Regions from separate parts of the Homo sapiens genome. Here all the other regions are linked to region 1. The links are contacts of gene promoters, found by promoter capture Hi-C in blood cells and fetal thymus (Javierre and others, 2016). All regions are on one chromosome and are shown on one strand. The core of a region is centred on a gene start or on the middle of the fragment in contact, and the rest is flanking DNA. Distances in the headings are between cores, read along the strand shown. Region 1 holds the start of NSMCE2 (NSE2 SUMO ligase component of SMC5/6 complex). Region 2 overlaps TATDN1 (TatD DNase domain containing 1). Region 3 overlaps LINC02964 (long intergenic non-protein coding RNA 2964). Region 4 overlaps LINC02964 (long intergenic non-protein coding RNA 2964). Region 5 overlaps LINC02964 (long intergenic non-protein coding RNA 2964).

The links. The method cuts DNA at HindIII sites, captures the fragments that hold promoters and counts their contacts. A CHiCAGO score of 5 or more calls a contact.
Region 2: a contact is called between a fragment that was not itself captured here and the fragment with the promoter of NSMCE2 in region 1, in 4 of 17 cell types (naive B cells, erythroblasts, total B cells and 1 more). The highest score is 6.6, in naive B cells.
Region 3: a contact is called between a fragment that was not itself captured here and the fragment with the promoter of NSMCE2 in region 1, in 12 of 17 cell types (neutrophils, monocytes, M0 macrophages and 9 more). The highest score is 27.5, in neutrophils.
Region 4: a contact is called between a fragment that was not itself captured here and the fragment with the promoter of NSMCE2 in region 1, in 4 of 17 cell types (neutrophils, naive B cells, M1 macrophages and 1 more). The highest score is 12.1, in neutrophils.
Region 5: a contact is called between a fragment that was not itself captured here and the fragment with the promoter of NSMCE2 in region 1, in 7 of 17 cell types (neutrophils, total B cells, M0 macrophages and 4 more). The highest score is 13.2, in neutrophils.

Annotation. Positions count from the first base shown.
Region 1 is chr8:125,090,549-125,093,248 of GRCh38, reverse strand. It overlaps NSMCE2 (NSE2 SUMO ligase component of SMC5/6 complex), which reads right to left and starts at 1,389. Exons shown (of 8, transcript NM_173685.4): 1 at 1,291-1,389. It overlaps WASHC5 (WASH complex subunit 5), which reads left to right and starts at 1,457. Exons shown (of 29, transcript NM_014846.4): 1 at 1,457-1,634. RefSeq lists an enhancer at 1,298-1,517 and a silencer at 1,568-1,737. The HindIII fragment of the contact is 6,790 bases long and covers 1-2,700 here.
Region 2 is chr8:124,508,929-124,511,628 of GRCh38, reverse strand. The region is part of intron 6 of TATDN1 (TatD DNase domain containing 1); the gene reads left to right. Among named protein-coding and RNA genes, the nearest start is that of MIR6844, 1.7 kb to the right of the region's middle. The HindIII fragment of the contact is 1,769 bases long and covers 449-2,217 here.
Region 3 is chr8:125,644,817-125,647,516 of GRCh38, reverse strand. All of the region lies in intron 5 of LINC02964 (long intergenic non-protein coding RNA 2964), which reads right to left. Among named protein-coding and RNA genes, the nearest start is that of LINC02964, 130 kb to the right of the region's middle. The HindIII fragment of the contact is 7,706 bases long and covers 1-2,700 here.
Region 4 is chr8:125,603,626-125,606,325 of GRCh38, reverse strand. All of the region lies in intron 2 of LINC02964 (long intergenic non-protein coding RNA 2964), which reads right to left. Among named protein-coding and RNA genes, the nearest start is that of LINC02964, 85 kb to the right of the region's middle. RefSeq lists enhancers at 179-228, 1,101-1,280. The HindIII fragment of the contact is 1,426 bases long and covers 539-1,964 here.
Region 5 is chr8:125,621,139-125,623,838 of GRCh38, reverse strand. LINC02964 (long intergenic non-protein coding RNA 2964) reads right to left here. Exons shown (of 7, transcript XR_001746072.2): 5 at 265-1,015. Among named protein-coding and RNA genes, the nearest start is that of LINC02964, 100 kb to the right of the region's middle. The HindIII fragment of the contact is 2,227 bases long and covers 165-2,391 here.

The DNA of each region.
Region 1 (2,700 bases), core at 140-2,639:
ATTAGTGCCCTTTTAAAAGATGCTCCAGATAGCTGCTTTGCCATTCCACCATGTGAGGACACAGCAAGAAGCCACCTATGAACCAGGAAACAGGCCCCGGAACTGTGAGAAATAAATTTCTGTTGTTCATAAGCTACCTAGTTTATGGCATTTCCGTTACAGAAGCCCACATTGACTAAGATACCATCTTTCATGGCTTGGTTTAAGTGGTTCTCAACCAAGAAGGATTTTACCCCTCTCGCAAGGGGACATTTAGCAGTATCTGTAGACTTTGTGGTTGGCATCTAGCGGGCAGAGGCCAGGGATGCTCTTAAGCATCCTACAAAACACAGGACAGCCCTCACCCTGACCCCACAGCAAAAAATTATCTGGCCTAAAATGTCAATAGTGCATCAGTTGAGAATAACTGGTTTAAATCAATCTCTCTTGGATCCCTCCCCAGGTAATAACACTGATCTTTTTCTTCCCGGTACCTATGATCTCCAAGAAAGTTTAGAACAAGTTGTGCATTTCCTGAGTTTTTTCTCTGCATGTTATTTATAGACAATATGTTGACTTCCTTTAAATCCATGGGAGCCTTGTACAAGTCAGCCAGAGCTGCCTCTCCTTTTTCAACATGCAAGGATAATCCCTTCTCTCTGAATCCTTCTCATACAATTGCTTTTCCCTCCCTCATGCTACCATTATCCCTATCACATGCACATGTACACAACACACTCCTATTATGAAACTCATCACAACTATTTGCTCACATGTCTGCAGCTTCTTTAAACTGACACCTCCTTAAACTAGAACCCTGACATATTCTATTGCATATAAAGCAATTCCTCACACAAAATAGGGGACCAATAAAGATTTGGCCAGTTACAAAAATAACAACAGACATCATCATTTCTCGGTCACCTACAGAATGCCATAAACTGGTGTCCCGGCACTTTATTCTCCTTATCGCTAATTCTCACTGCAATCTACATAACTGAAGAGGAAATTGAGGTCCAGAGAGTTTATTCAAACGACCTTCCCGTGGCCTTACTTTTAAAGTCAGTTCAAACAAAATCTATTTGGATCAAAAATTCGTAATCTTGCCCCTACACACTTGAGGCGAAAGGATGGAGAGATGGCGTCTCGGACAGGAGGGTAAACTGTCCCAGACTCACTACCGTGGCGTGAAAAGTTCCACAACCATAATCCGGGTAGACGGACCCCCGGCTCGGAGTCCCCGTGGAGTGTCCCTGAGGGTGGCGAAACTCCTGCCACCCTCCCCATTGCCGTCCCCCGCTTCTTCCCTACCTGGTAGTCCAAGCTGTCTCCGTCTGGTGGCACCCCAATTTCCCCTGCCTAGACCCACCTCCTTTCCTCAGCCCCCTTCGCCTGCCGCTGAAAAGTGAGAGCGGGCTCTTGCGTCATCAGCCGTCGCCGGCGAGTGGTCACATGATGCCCCTCCCTGCTCCCAGCCGCTTCGGTCATGTGACCGCCTGGGGAGTCAGGGGCGGAAGTCGGGGTCTGACCCGCTCCAGGTCCGGGACTGCGGATAGAAGAGGACCGCCGCCTTGAGGGAGGGGTGGAAACTGGGTGCCGGCTCCGCGCGCGACCTCCGGCCCTGCGCGTGCGCCGTGGCGCGGCCCGGCTGACAGGTGAGTGGGGATGGAGTGAGCGCGCCCCATTTTTGCATGGCCCCCTTCCCCTCCCCGCTGGGCCGCGCTGGCCACGGGGAGGTCTGCAGAGTCGCGTGCAGCCTGGATGGGGGACTCGGGATGGAGGGCTTAGGGGCTTTCTGGGGCGGGGGCTGTAATCCAGCTCTTCGTCTCCGCTTAGGGGGAAATCATTTTGCACACCCCTTCCTCGCTTTAGGAAGCACCGTTCAGCTGCTTGGTCCGAATCTCATCCTTCCAAGTTTCCGGGAACACTGCTGTATGGATGTCGTCGTTATTTCTCTTTGCTTTTGAGAAAACTGAAAGGCTAGTAGTGAGGACTTTTACAGGCTGACAGACGTGGATTTGCATTCTAGTTATGCCATGGGCTGTGAGTTTGGGCAAGTCATTGCTGCTCGCCGCGCCTTAATGCCTTCACCTGTGACATACTGATGTCAAAATCCTTTGCATTTGGGGGAAAAAAAAAAAGTTCCCAGGGCCCTGATTCCTGGGATCGGAATCAGGATTATGATCGGACAGGAGAAAGAAAAAAAGTCACAGAGCCATAAAACTGGGTCTCCTGATTGCAAGCGCATGGAGCTCCCTCAAACATAGGTGAGGCGTAGTGAGGGCGAAGTTTTACTGTCTTTGTGCACTACAAGGGACACCTTCTCTAATTGTCCTTCACCTGCCTTTCCCAGGATTTCAGGTTCAGCCTCATTTCAGAACTTTTCTGGAAAATATATGCAGCTTGCATTTATCTTGATCAGCAACCGTTATATTTTGTTTGTGATAATGGATTTGTGGAGACCAGTGCTTCCTTTATGGAACTGAGGTTTTGCGAAAGGCTAAAAATAGACCTGCCTTCTTTTGTCCTCTGAAGAGGGTAAACTGTTTGTCCACGACAATTCGATTTCCTTAAGAAATATTATTCTGTACTCAGGGTAATTGGTGTAAGGATGTCATGCCTTATTCTTGAAAGCATGTCTTTTGATTAGGATTACTTCCCAAACTGAAAATCACAGTTCCACGCCAAATTATTAAAAATGAAGTTACCGGCACTTGTAAA
Region 2 (2,700 bases), core at 84-2,583, 580 kb after region 1:
AGGAAAGGCCTGATCTACTTATGGAAAGTTTATCCTTTAAGCCATACCCTGTATTTTCAATTTCCTGGCCTTATGCTACACTCCTTTCCTTGTTGCAATTTAGAGCTCTGTTCTCTTGGGTAGGAGGAATTTGCTTTGGGCATTTTTCTTGGGGCTTTAAAATGTTAACACTGTGCAGGTCTTAAAAACTACAACAAGAAGATTTTAAAACAATCCTTTGGGGATTTAGGGGACCCTAGAGATGAGCAATTGAGGCCATGTTGCCATCAAGCAGCTTACAGAGGAGGGATTACTACTTGTGTTGAGGTATACCCATGAAACTCACTGGGCTTTTTGGATTTGCCTTGATCCTAATTAATAACAACTGCTCCTGAAGCTGAACTTTTCCAGCTCTTGTCGTTAGATAGTTAAACCTCAACTGTAAGAAGCAGTAATAAAATCAGAAGCTTCACTAAGATGAGCAAATAACTCAAGTGGAAAATTATTTTCATTTATGAACTTTAAAAAAATAATAAGTGAGTAAAACAGGCAGAGAAGTCTCTTAATAGATGCCAATTCCTACCCTGTAACTTATACAGTTATTTCTAGTTACCATGGCGGGTTTTTCTTCTCTAAAGATAATAGTCGTTTGATGTTCAGTACTAGTTATCCTCAATTTGTATCATTAGGAATAATTTTTTTTACCACATGGCTTCTTTATGATACGTAGCTAGCATGACTTCAGGGACCTTTCTTTTCTTGAATTATGTAAAATTCTGTGGGCCCATTGCTTGGGCTTCTGTTATTTTCTTTTTCTTTTTTCTTTGAGACAGGGTCTCACTCTGTCATCCAAGCTGGAGTGCAGTGGTGTGATCATGGCTCACCGCAGCCTTGACCTCGCCAGGCTCAAGCAATCCTCCCACCTCAGCCTCCCAAGAACTGAGACTGTAGGCATATGCTACCACACCTGGCTAATTCTTGTATTTTTTGTAGAGATGGGGTTTCACCATGTTGCCCAGGTTGGTCTCGAACTCCTGAGCTCAAGCAATCCACCCACCTCAGCCTCCCAAAGTGCTGGGATTACAGGCCTGAACCACACACCCAGCTGGCCTCTGTTATTTTCATAAACTGTACTTTTGCCTACATTCCTATAGGAAGCTAATTTTCCATCCGACCATTAGATACTGTGAATTTGTAGCTTGGTCATGTGGTTTGGTCCATGGAATTGTGTGTGGAAAAAATAACCAGTACAGCGTGGAGCAGTGCACACAATGAAGAGTACCGCCTGCTGTGTGTAGTCAGAGCCAAATATATTAGTAAAGTTGACATAATGACTAGTGCACACTTAACTGCTGACATTTGGTTTACTTTAGAGGTTATGGAAATAGTGACTGGTTATATTATCAAAATCTCTTTTTGTCCAAGTTGTCGTTAATATTTCCTACACTGCAAAATTTCAGCACTTTGTTAATGAAAGGAAAATATTTTTGCTTATTCTAACCCAGCAGAATCTGAAAAGGAGATTTTAAAACCCAAACATTTGGTAATACAGACATAGACGACCTATTTTAGGAAGACTATTTCTATTTTTTTAATTTTTAATTTTTTTTTTTTTTTTTGAGACAGAATGTTGCTCTCTCACCCAGGCTGGAGTGCAGTGGTACAATCTCAGCTCACTGCAACCTCTGACCCTGGGTTCAAGAGATTCTCATGCCTGCCGAATAGCTGGGATTACAGGCATGTGCCAACATGCCGGCTAATTTTTGTATATTTAGTAGAGACGAGGTTTCACCATGCTGGCCAGGCTGGTCTTGAACTCCTGCCCTTGAGTGATCCACCCGCCTTGGCCTCCCAAAGTGCTGGCATTACAGGTGTGAGCCACCACGCCCGGCCTGAAGACTGCTTCTTAAGAAGTACATTTCTATTTCTAATTTTAAAATTTAGCATTTTCAAGAGAGCAAAGGGGGTAAAATAGTCCTGCACATCAGGAAATATGATATAGAAAAATATAGCAAGAGAGGCTTAAGTTAAACAGAGAAATTGTTTCCCCAAATTAAAGTGCTTAGAAGAGGTAAGCACATTTAAGAAAATAATAAGCCACCTGTTATCCTGATTCAGTTGAACCTACCATTTGTGAGAACAAGGGGGAGCACTGTGTTGAAGTGAAAAGACAAACAGAATGAACATTCGTTGTATCCTCTGAATATTGTCATTATACTCCGGGACCAGAAGGAAGCTTCTTGAAAACGTAACAGGTTTTTGTCGTTTAGGCTGGGACTTGGAATTAGAGCAGTGAAGTTCTGTTCCAAGTTGGCCATGCCAGGTATTGTTATCTTGGACAAAGTACTACACCTCTCTGACACCAGCTTTTATACTCAGGTTATTTTGAGGATCAAATGAGACAATGGTATCTGGTACTTGGAAAAACCTTCTTATCAAGTACTCTTTAAGATATTCAGGGCTACCACTTTATCATGTAATTTTCTTTTTTTAATAGCATAATTGAGTTATTTGCTGTTTAGCAAATACTTAGATTTCATTTTTGAGGGAAACCTTGTTCATTTTGCCCAGTGGCAATAACTTCTTTTATAACAGCACATAAAAAACTGGTTGCAAAATGGAATAGATTAGCATGCAGTATGAAGCTCTCCTGGGCTTCTCGCTTGGTGAGTTGACTCCCACTGATGGTGCTCCCAGTGGCAAGGGGCCAGTGGTGTTACT
Region 3 (2,700 bases), core at 108-2,607, 550 kb before region 1:
AAAAATTAGCCAGGCGTGGTGGCGGGCGCCTGTAGTCCCAGCTACTCAGGAGGCTGAGGCAGGAGAATGGCGTGAACCCGGGAGGCAGAGCTTGCAGTGAGTCGAGATCGCGCCACTGCACTCCAGCTTGGGAGACAGCGAGACTCGGTCTCAAAAAAAAAAAAAAGAAAGAAAGAAAGAAAAAAAGAAAAGAAAGAGAGAGAGAGAGAGAGAAAGAAGAAAGAAAGAAAGAAAGAAAGAAAGAAAGAAAGAAAGAAAGAAAGAAAGAAAGAAAGAAAGAAAGAAAGAAAGAAAAAAGAAATCAAAAGGCTGATCAGCATCTTTCTCCTAGGGCAGACCAGAAGAGAGAATGATCTGCCCCATCTCTCCTCCCTCCACCTTGCTGGCCAAGGTTTCCCCTGCTCTGACATGAAGGGGCAGAGCACCTTGCCATCCAACTGGTGACAGGGTACTTCTCCATCCCCACATCCTTTCCCACAGTGGTTGTCTCAAAAGGGCAGTCTGTGGTTGCAAAGGCAGCAACGAAGGGGCCTGGAGCTCCTGGAGGCCTGGAAGAGGTCTCTCATTGCTGTTTTCTCATTATTGTTGCTGGTGTTGGTTTTGCTCTTTACATCTTTGTGCCCTCGGCATCCTTCTAGTGACTGACACAATCCAATCCTGAGATTGTCACTCAGTACCACACCCTGCCCAGAAAGGTCTGAATTACCATCTTCAGGCTGCGTTATGGGGAATGGTAATAGTCATTATACGATAATTTTATATTTGGGAAATGAAAACAATCCCTTTTGTTTTCTGCTGTAAGTTAAAGAAGGTAAAATTTTCACACATGCAAAAGCAGTCTTCTTGGTTAATGAGGATATTTAGGAAGAACCAAGAGAGCTGAGCATGTACTGAGGAAACACCTCCACATGGTGCCATCTTCAATGGCAGAGATGGTCACGAGATGGGCGCTCCCCTCTCTGGGCTGCCGTCAATTTCCCTCTGGTTCTGGCAGAGAATTCCCTAAATGGCTGCAAGGTTGCCCACGCTTGATCTTCTGGTTTTGGACACCCTCCTACAGTTGTTAAGCTCTAATTTCATGAACCAACTACACTAGAAAGAGAAACTACCCATCTACCCAAAAATGAGAATGAGAGTAAGATACCTGGGAATGTAAAAGAAATGCAACTTAGTAGCTAATGCAAGAAATGGAAACAAATACATTTCCTGCCTTGCAGGTCAAAACACAGAGACGTATTTCCTCAAACCTTGACAACTATCTCCCAGGTGAAGAGAACAGGAAATTAAGGTTTTTACAGCTTTGGCAGCATTCACACTCCAGTGCCCTTTGCTGTAAAGCCTCCCTGCCCTGCAGAGGCAGAAGAGTTTGTTCTTATCCCTTGCCTCCTTGCCCCTGACCCATGCTCCCATCCTATTTGATCAGGTACACCATATACAGTCGCACAGTCAGTGCACTGCACAAGTCAGGAGGTGCCATTTCCACCAGCTGTATTGTGACTGGGCTCCCTGGAGTTGTACGGTGCTTCCATCAGGGTGTGTTCTGTGGCTTGCCTTGTATCACAACTGACACCTGCAAGGCCATGGACTCCTAACTGACCTATAGTCACTGGCAGTGTCCCTGGCACGTAGCACAGTGCCTGGTACCTAGATAAACCTTAACATAAACTCCTAGGGATTTAAGAAGCAATTAATTGGACAAGAGAATCAGCACCACTCTAAGACAAGAAATAAGTAGTTATTTTAGGCCGGGCACAGTGGCTCACGCCTGTAATCCCAGCACTTGGGAGGCTGAGGTGGGAGGATCACCGGAGGTCGGGAGTTCAAGAGCAGCCTGGGCAACATGGTGAAACCCTGTCTCTACTAAAAATACAAAAATTAGCCAGGTGTGGTGGCACATGCTATAATCCCAGCTACTCGGGAGGCTGAGGCAGGAGAATCGCTTGAACCCAGGAGGCAGAGGTTGAGCCAAGATCCACTGCACTCCAGCCTGGGCGACAGAGCAAGACTCTGTCTCAAAAAAAAAAAAAAAAAAAAAAAAAAAAAAAAAAGTCGTTATTTTAAATAGGAGCAAAATTCTTTTAGAGTATGGATACTTCTTGAATTAACCTTAGATACTTTAAAGAGTAAATATAACATAACAGTTAAGATCTCTGGCCCTGGAGTCAGAAGGATCTGGGTTTTAATCCCAGCTTTACAACTAATTGAGCCATACTGGGCATGTTCCTAGACCTCCCTAAGCCTTAGTGTCCTCATCTGTGAGGGTAACTGAGATAAAGCCTTAGCATGGTGCCTGGCACACAGTCACACTCAATGCATCTTAGTTGTAATTATGAAGTACATTGGAGGTGTCAATTAATCCAGGCAATAACATGAAAAGAAAATGTTAGCTATCCATATTTATATCCCACAAAGAGGAATATGCTCAAGATCTATTAAGCGCCCAATTAATGTTTGCTGAGTGAATAAATGAGAGAGAAGAGGAGGAGGAGGAAGGAAGGTGGGGGAGGAGGAGAAGGGAAGGAGGAAGAAGAAGAAGAAAGAAAGATGAAAGGGAGAGTGAGGAGAAGGGGTACTGAACTAGGAGTCAGGAGGGATACAGCTTCAAATATGCCATCACTAACTTTGTGACTTGAAGTAAGTTCCTTTCTTGGTCTCAATTTGCTCCTTTTAAAGATGAAAAGTGACTGGATGATGCCTCAG
Region 4 (2,700 bases), core at 2-2,501, 510 kb before region 1:
CAGCCTGGGCTGCAAGAAAAACAGAAAGTTGAGTGAGGCTGATGTGCAGAATGTGGGCAGGTGATCAGTGGAGGCTAAAGATGGCCTGACATCAGGGCTGGATGCCATTGGTCTATGTGGACCCTGATACAGATATTAGATTTCTGCCGGTGTCAAAGAGAAGTGGGTCGGGGAAGCCTGAGACTCTGATATAACATCACGTGACAGATAACAGTCCCTAAAGGAAATGAAAGTATTTTACCTCCAAATATATTTCTTGGACATATTTTGAAATGACCCTGCAAAGCCACCCGTTGTGGGGAAAATTTACATTCTGCAGAGAATCTTCTTCCCTTTCTAAGTCTTTTCCTGATCCAGGAGAGATTTAACTAAAAGTCTGACAGCTTTTAAGGTCTGATAAAAGACATTTACCATCTGTTCTCTCTGAAGTCTGCTACCTGGAGGCTTCGTCTACATAAGAAGAAACCTGGCCTCCACAACCCCCGTTATCTTAACCCCAAGCATTTCTTCTGCTGACTCAAACTCTTTAGGCAAAGCTTAACACTTTCAACCAATTGCCAATCAGGAAATCTTTGAATCCGCCTGTGACCTGAAAGCACCCACTTCAAGATGACCTGCCTTTCTTGGCCAAGCTAACATATAACTCACACGTATTGATTTATGTTTTCCCTGTAGCTTCTGTCTCCCTAAAATGTATAAAGTCAAAGTATAACCCAAACATCTTGGGCACATGTTCTCAGGACCTTCTGAGGCTGTGTCACGGGCCATGGTCCTCACACTTGGCTCAGAATAAACTTCTTCAAGTATTTCAGAGTTTGGCTTTTTTCATCAACAGTATGAACCCTGTGCCCCCCAAATTTATCTGCTGAAGCCCTAACCTCCAACATGATGATATTAGGAGGTGAGGCCTGTGGGGAGTAATTAGGTTTAGAGGAGGTCCTGAGGCTACAGTCTCAGTGATGGGATTGGTGCCCTTAGAAGAAGAGAAAGAGACAAAAAATCTCTCACTCCACCAGGTGAGGACACAGCAAGAAGGCAGCCATCCACAAGCCAGGAAGAGAGCTCTCACCAGGAGCCAAATCTGCTGACACCTTGATCTTGGACCTCCGAGCCTCCAGAACAGCGAGATAATAAATGTCTGCTGTTTAAGACCCCAGTCCGTGGTATTTTATTATGGCAGCCTGAGTCGACTAAGATGACCTCAAGTTAAATCTAAAACTTTGCCTCAGATGTCAACACCCAGGAAGCTACCATTTCTCCTTGAAACAATACATATGCAAAGAATATGCAAAGAAAACACACTCACAAAAGAAATAATCTCCAATGATAAGGGAAGCCAACTGAAGACTCTTTAAAGTGACAGACCCAAAAATATTTGTTACTGGTTAACTTTCATTTCCTCAGGCCCTATCAGTGCAGCGGGGACACATAACAGAAACTAAGGGAGGTCTGTGGCTTGCCCACCCCTGCCAAGATATACTGAAACCTCAGCTCTTCCTTTCCGATCCAAGAGGTCTTGGAGAGTCTCCCATGCACAAGACAGTTCTTCTTAATTCTCTGATGCCCATTCGCCTTCCCTGGGCCACTCAACTTGTGCTTCCTGTCATTTCCCCGGGGCGCTGCCATCATTCTCTAAGGCTGCTCATCCTGCCAACATTTCTGAGGCTCATGCCTCCTGGCCACGGATACAGACCTGTTTCCTAGCTGCTCTTTCTTCCACACTGTAAGTCATCTGGTATTAGAAATGCTTTGATGCAGTCATGGAGCTGAGTGAACACACTGTCTTAGACCCATGCAAACTTTCAGACACAGCTCCTTCATTCCCCAACAAATTTATTCTGAGTGCTTACCCAGTGCCAGGCACTGGGGAGGCAGGGATGAAGGAAATCCAGTTCCAGCTCTCAAAGGGAGGCTAGACTCATGGAGAAGAAGGCTCTTATGTTGGGCTCTCCCTCTGAAAAGCTTCTTAAAGCCTGTCCTACCAGGCATTGGCACAAGGAGGATGTCAGCAAGTGAAGATCGGCAGGACAGCATTCTAAGAAGAAAGCAAATGCAGGGTATGGACTTTCAGCCTGGGCTGCCACAAGGGCAAATCTCCTGCTGTAGTGACCTAGTATCACCCTCCACCTTGAGTTGAGAGACAGCGACAATAACAGCAGGAGTAATTGTAACGAGAAATGGCTAGCATCACAGAGCCCTTACAATATTCTCCACCAGCTCTGTCTAGGAGAATTATCTGTGATGATGGAAACGTTCTATATCTGTGCTGTCCAATTTAGAAGCCACTGAGAACTTGAAATGCAGCTGGTGCAATGGAAGAATCTCAATTTTAATTTTAGTTCATTTTGGTTATTTTAAATAGTCACCTGTGACTAGTGGCCACCATATCAGACAGCACAAGACAAGATATTGTGCTAAGCACTTTATGGGCAATATATTAATTTTAACAATAAGCAATGAGATAAGCACGATTTTTGTCTCCATTTCACAGATGTAGAAACTGAGTCCCAGAGAGGTTAAATAATTTGTCCAGGTCACTCATTTAGTAAGGGTAGAGCCAAGACTTAAACCCCAGCGATCTCTCCCCAGAAAGAAGTGAATCCTGCATCATACATTCATTCATCCATTCCAGAACCACACATTTGTTGTACCTATCATGAGTCAAGCAACATTCTAGATGATGGGGATATAGAGATACAT
Region 5 (2,700 bases), core at 29-2,528, 530 kb before region 1:
AAGTGCAAAGAAAATGTGCAGATCATGTATCAGTGAAGAGGTAAATTTGGCCACAAGTAACAGAAACCACTATGGAGTTCTTCAGCAAGGAGCCCAAAGGGAAGTTTGTGCCTGCCTGACGTCACTAAGCAGTGTCAGGCTGGTGCCCGCAATTCTCTTAAGCTTTCCCTCATGCTCATAAGGTATATGCCACAGCTACAACCATCAGGTCCACATTCCAGTAGGAAGAAGGAGAAAGGGGATAGACAGCCCCAGCAGACTTACACTTGCATCTCGCTGGTCAAGTATCATGGCCACTCCTAGCTGCAAGGAAGTCTGGGAAAGCGAGCTTTGAGTCTTCCACGTTCTAGAGCAGAGAAAGCACGGCTTGACGGGAAATGGAATGGGCGCTGAGTGAACCAACCTACAGTAGCTGCCACAAGGAAGCTCTCAGAAAGAAGGAAAGCTGAACAGCCAGATGGCAGGAACAAATGGGCAGCTATCTTCAGAGTGCTGCTAGCTGGATTAATCCGCTCTAGCCATTTTCAGATTAGGGGGTCATCATTTACTTTCCTATAGTCTAATTTTCCAATATGAGTCAAACATTCACCCCTTTGCCAGATGAGTGCTGGGATTTGGACTCGCAAACCTTCCAGTTGGCATGTGAACTGGGAAGGGGAAATCCCAATATGAAATGAAGAAGATGGGCAGATGAAAAACAAGGTAGTCCTTACACCTCCCTTGTAAGGACACGAGCGCCTCTGAGACAGAATCCCTGACATTCTCATCTGTGAATCTGCCTCTGTACCAGCAAAATGATGTGTTCCACATCTTCACTATGACTTGAGTGAGTGAGCGCATTCTTTAGCCTGTAGGCTGAGGTTGTTTCATCTGTTTTGATTTGTTTCATTAGGTTTTCATCCTCATAGAGAGGTTGGGTCTTGAAGCTGGACAGACCAGTGTTGGAATTCCAGCTCTACTTTGCCCCCTCGGTGTGGCTGTGGACAGCATTGTTTCCATGCCTCGATTTTCTTATCTGCAAAAGAGAAGAATTAAACCAATCTCATGAAGTTGCTGTAAGCATGGAACAATAATGTATGTGTAAAGCATGCACCTAGGGCCTGACACAGAGAAGACACTCCATCACCAGGAATCTGTTATTATTTTTATGCGAGAATTTTAAGCAGTAAGAGTGCAACAGGCCGGGCGTGGTGGCTCATGCCTGTAATCCCAGCACTTTGGGAGGCCAAGAAGGATGGATCACGAGGTCCGGAGTTCAAGACCAGCCTGGCCAACATGGTGAAACCCTGTCTCTACTAAAAATACAAAAATTACCTGGGTGCAGTGGCAGGTGCCTGTAATCCCAGCTACTCAGTTGGCTAAGGCAGGAGAATCTCTTGAACCCAGGACAGTGGAGGTTTCAGTGAGCCAAGGTCGTGCCACTGCACTCCAGCCCGGGCAACAGAGTGGGACTCCGTCTCAAAAAAATAATAATAGGCTGAACGCAGTGGCTGACGCCTGTAGTCCCAGCACTTTGGAAGGCCGAGGCAGGCGGATCACGAGGTCAGGAGATCGACACCATCCTGGCTAACATGGTGAAACCCTGTCTCTACTAAAAATCAAAAAATGAGACGGGCGTGGTGGCGGGCGCCTGTAGTCCCAGCTACTGGGGAGGCCGAGGCAGGAGAATGGCGTGGATCCAGGAGATGGAGCTTGCAGTGAGCCGAGATCGTGTCACTGCACTCCAGCCTGGGTGACAGAGCGAGACTCCACCTCAAAAAACAATAATAATAATAATAAAGAGTGCAACAAACACCTCCCTACCTCCGACTCTTCAATAACTCCTCTCTGGATTTTCACAGGTTGGAGGTTTGCTATTTGAGAAGAGAACAAAGTTCTAATCTTTCTAGTTCACCCTAAAAATAGTTAGTTCTTCTCTGTACATTCTGTCAGCTCAGCAAGTCCCATCTAGAGAACTGGGAGATTGTGAAAGGCAATCTTTCTAAACAGGGGTCAAATGTTCTTTACCCGAGAGGAACTCACAGAGGATACACATGAAGTTAGAGAGTTGGCCCAATAGCATGGGGGTCTTCCCACCCAGGCCAGGATCTTGTGTCTAGAACCTCAAGAATAAGCGAAACCAGTGCATTGAGCTTCCTAGAGAAAAGGGATATTTCTCTCATACTGATTTATTGAACCACTCAAGTCATCTGAAAGGCATCTATTGAAAGCTACCAGCTCACAAACTGGCATGTGCAGAAGATGCAGAAATAACTAAGTGTGCCTACCCTTAGAGTTCTCATGGTTAACTACTTGCTGAAATCCTCCTGTATTCCAGAATAGTAGTAATAATGATAATAATAACTAACATTTAATGACCACTTACTAGGTGTCATCCACAGTTCTAAAGCTTTATATACATCATTCACTTATAATTCTTACCTTAACCTCAGAAATTAAGTCCTTTGTCTCCCTTCTGCTGATTTAAAAAAAAAAAAGAATGAGGTACCAAAAGTTAAATGACTTACCTGGGCTGTTTAGAAACTCTCTACCTAGAAAGATTTCCATTACCGTCAGATGTTAGGAGAGGATCTAACATAGGAAAGGTCACCAGTTGTCACAGAAAAAGCCAAAGAACTTAGGTCTAGTGCCCCTTTGCCACTGACAAACTAATAACACCCTCTAGACATCCTCAAGTCCTTCTCCTTGCTCAGGAATTTT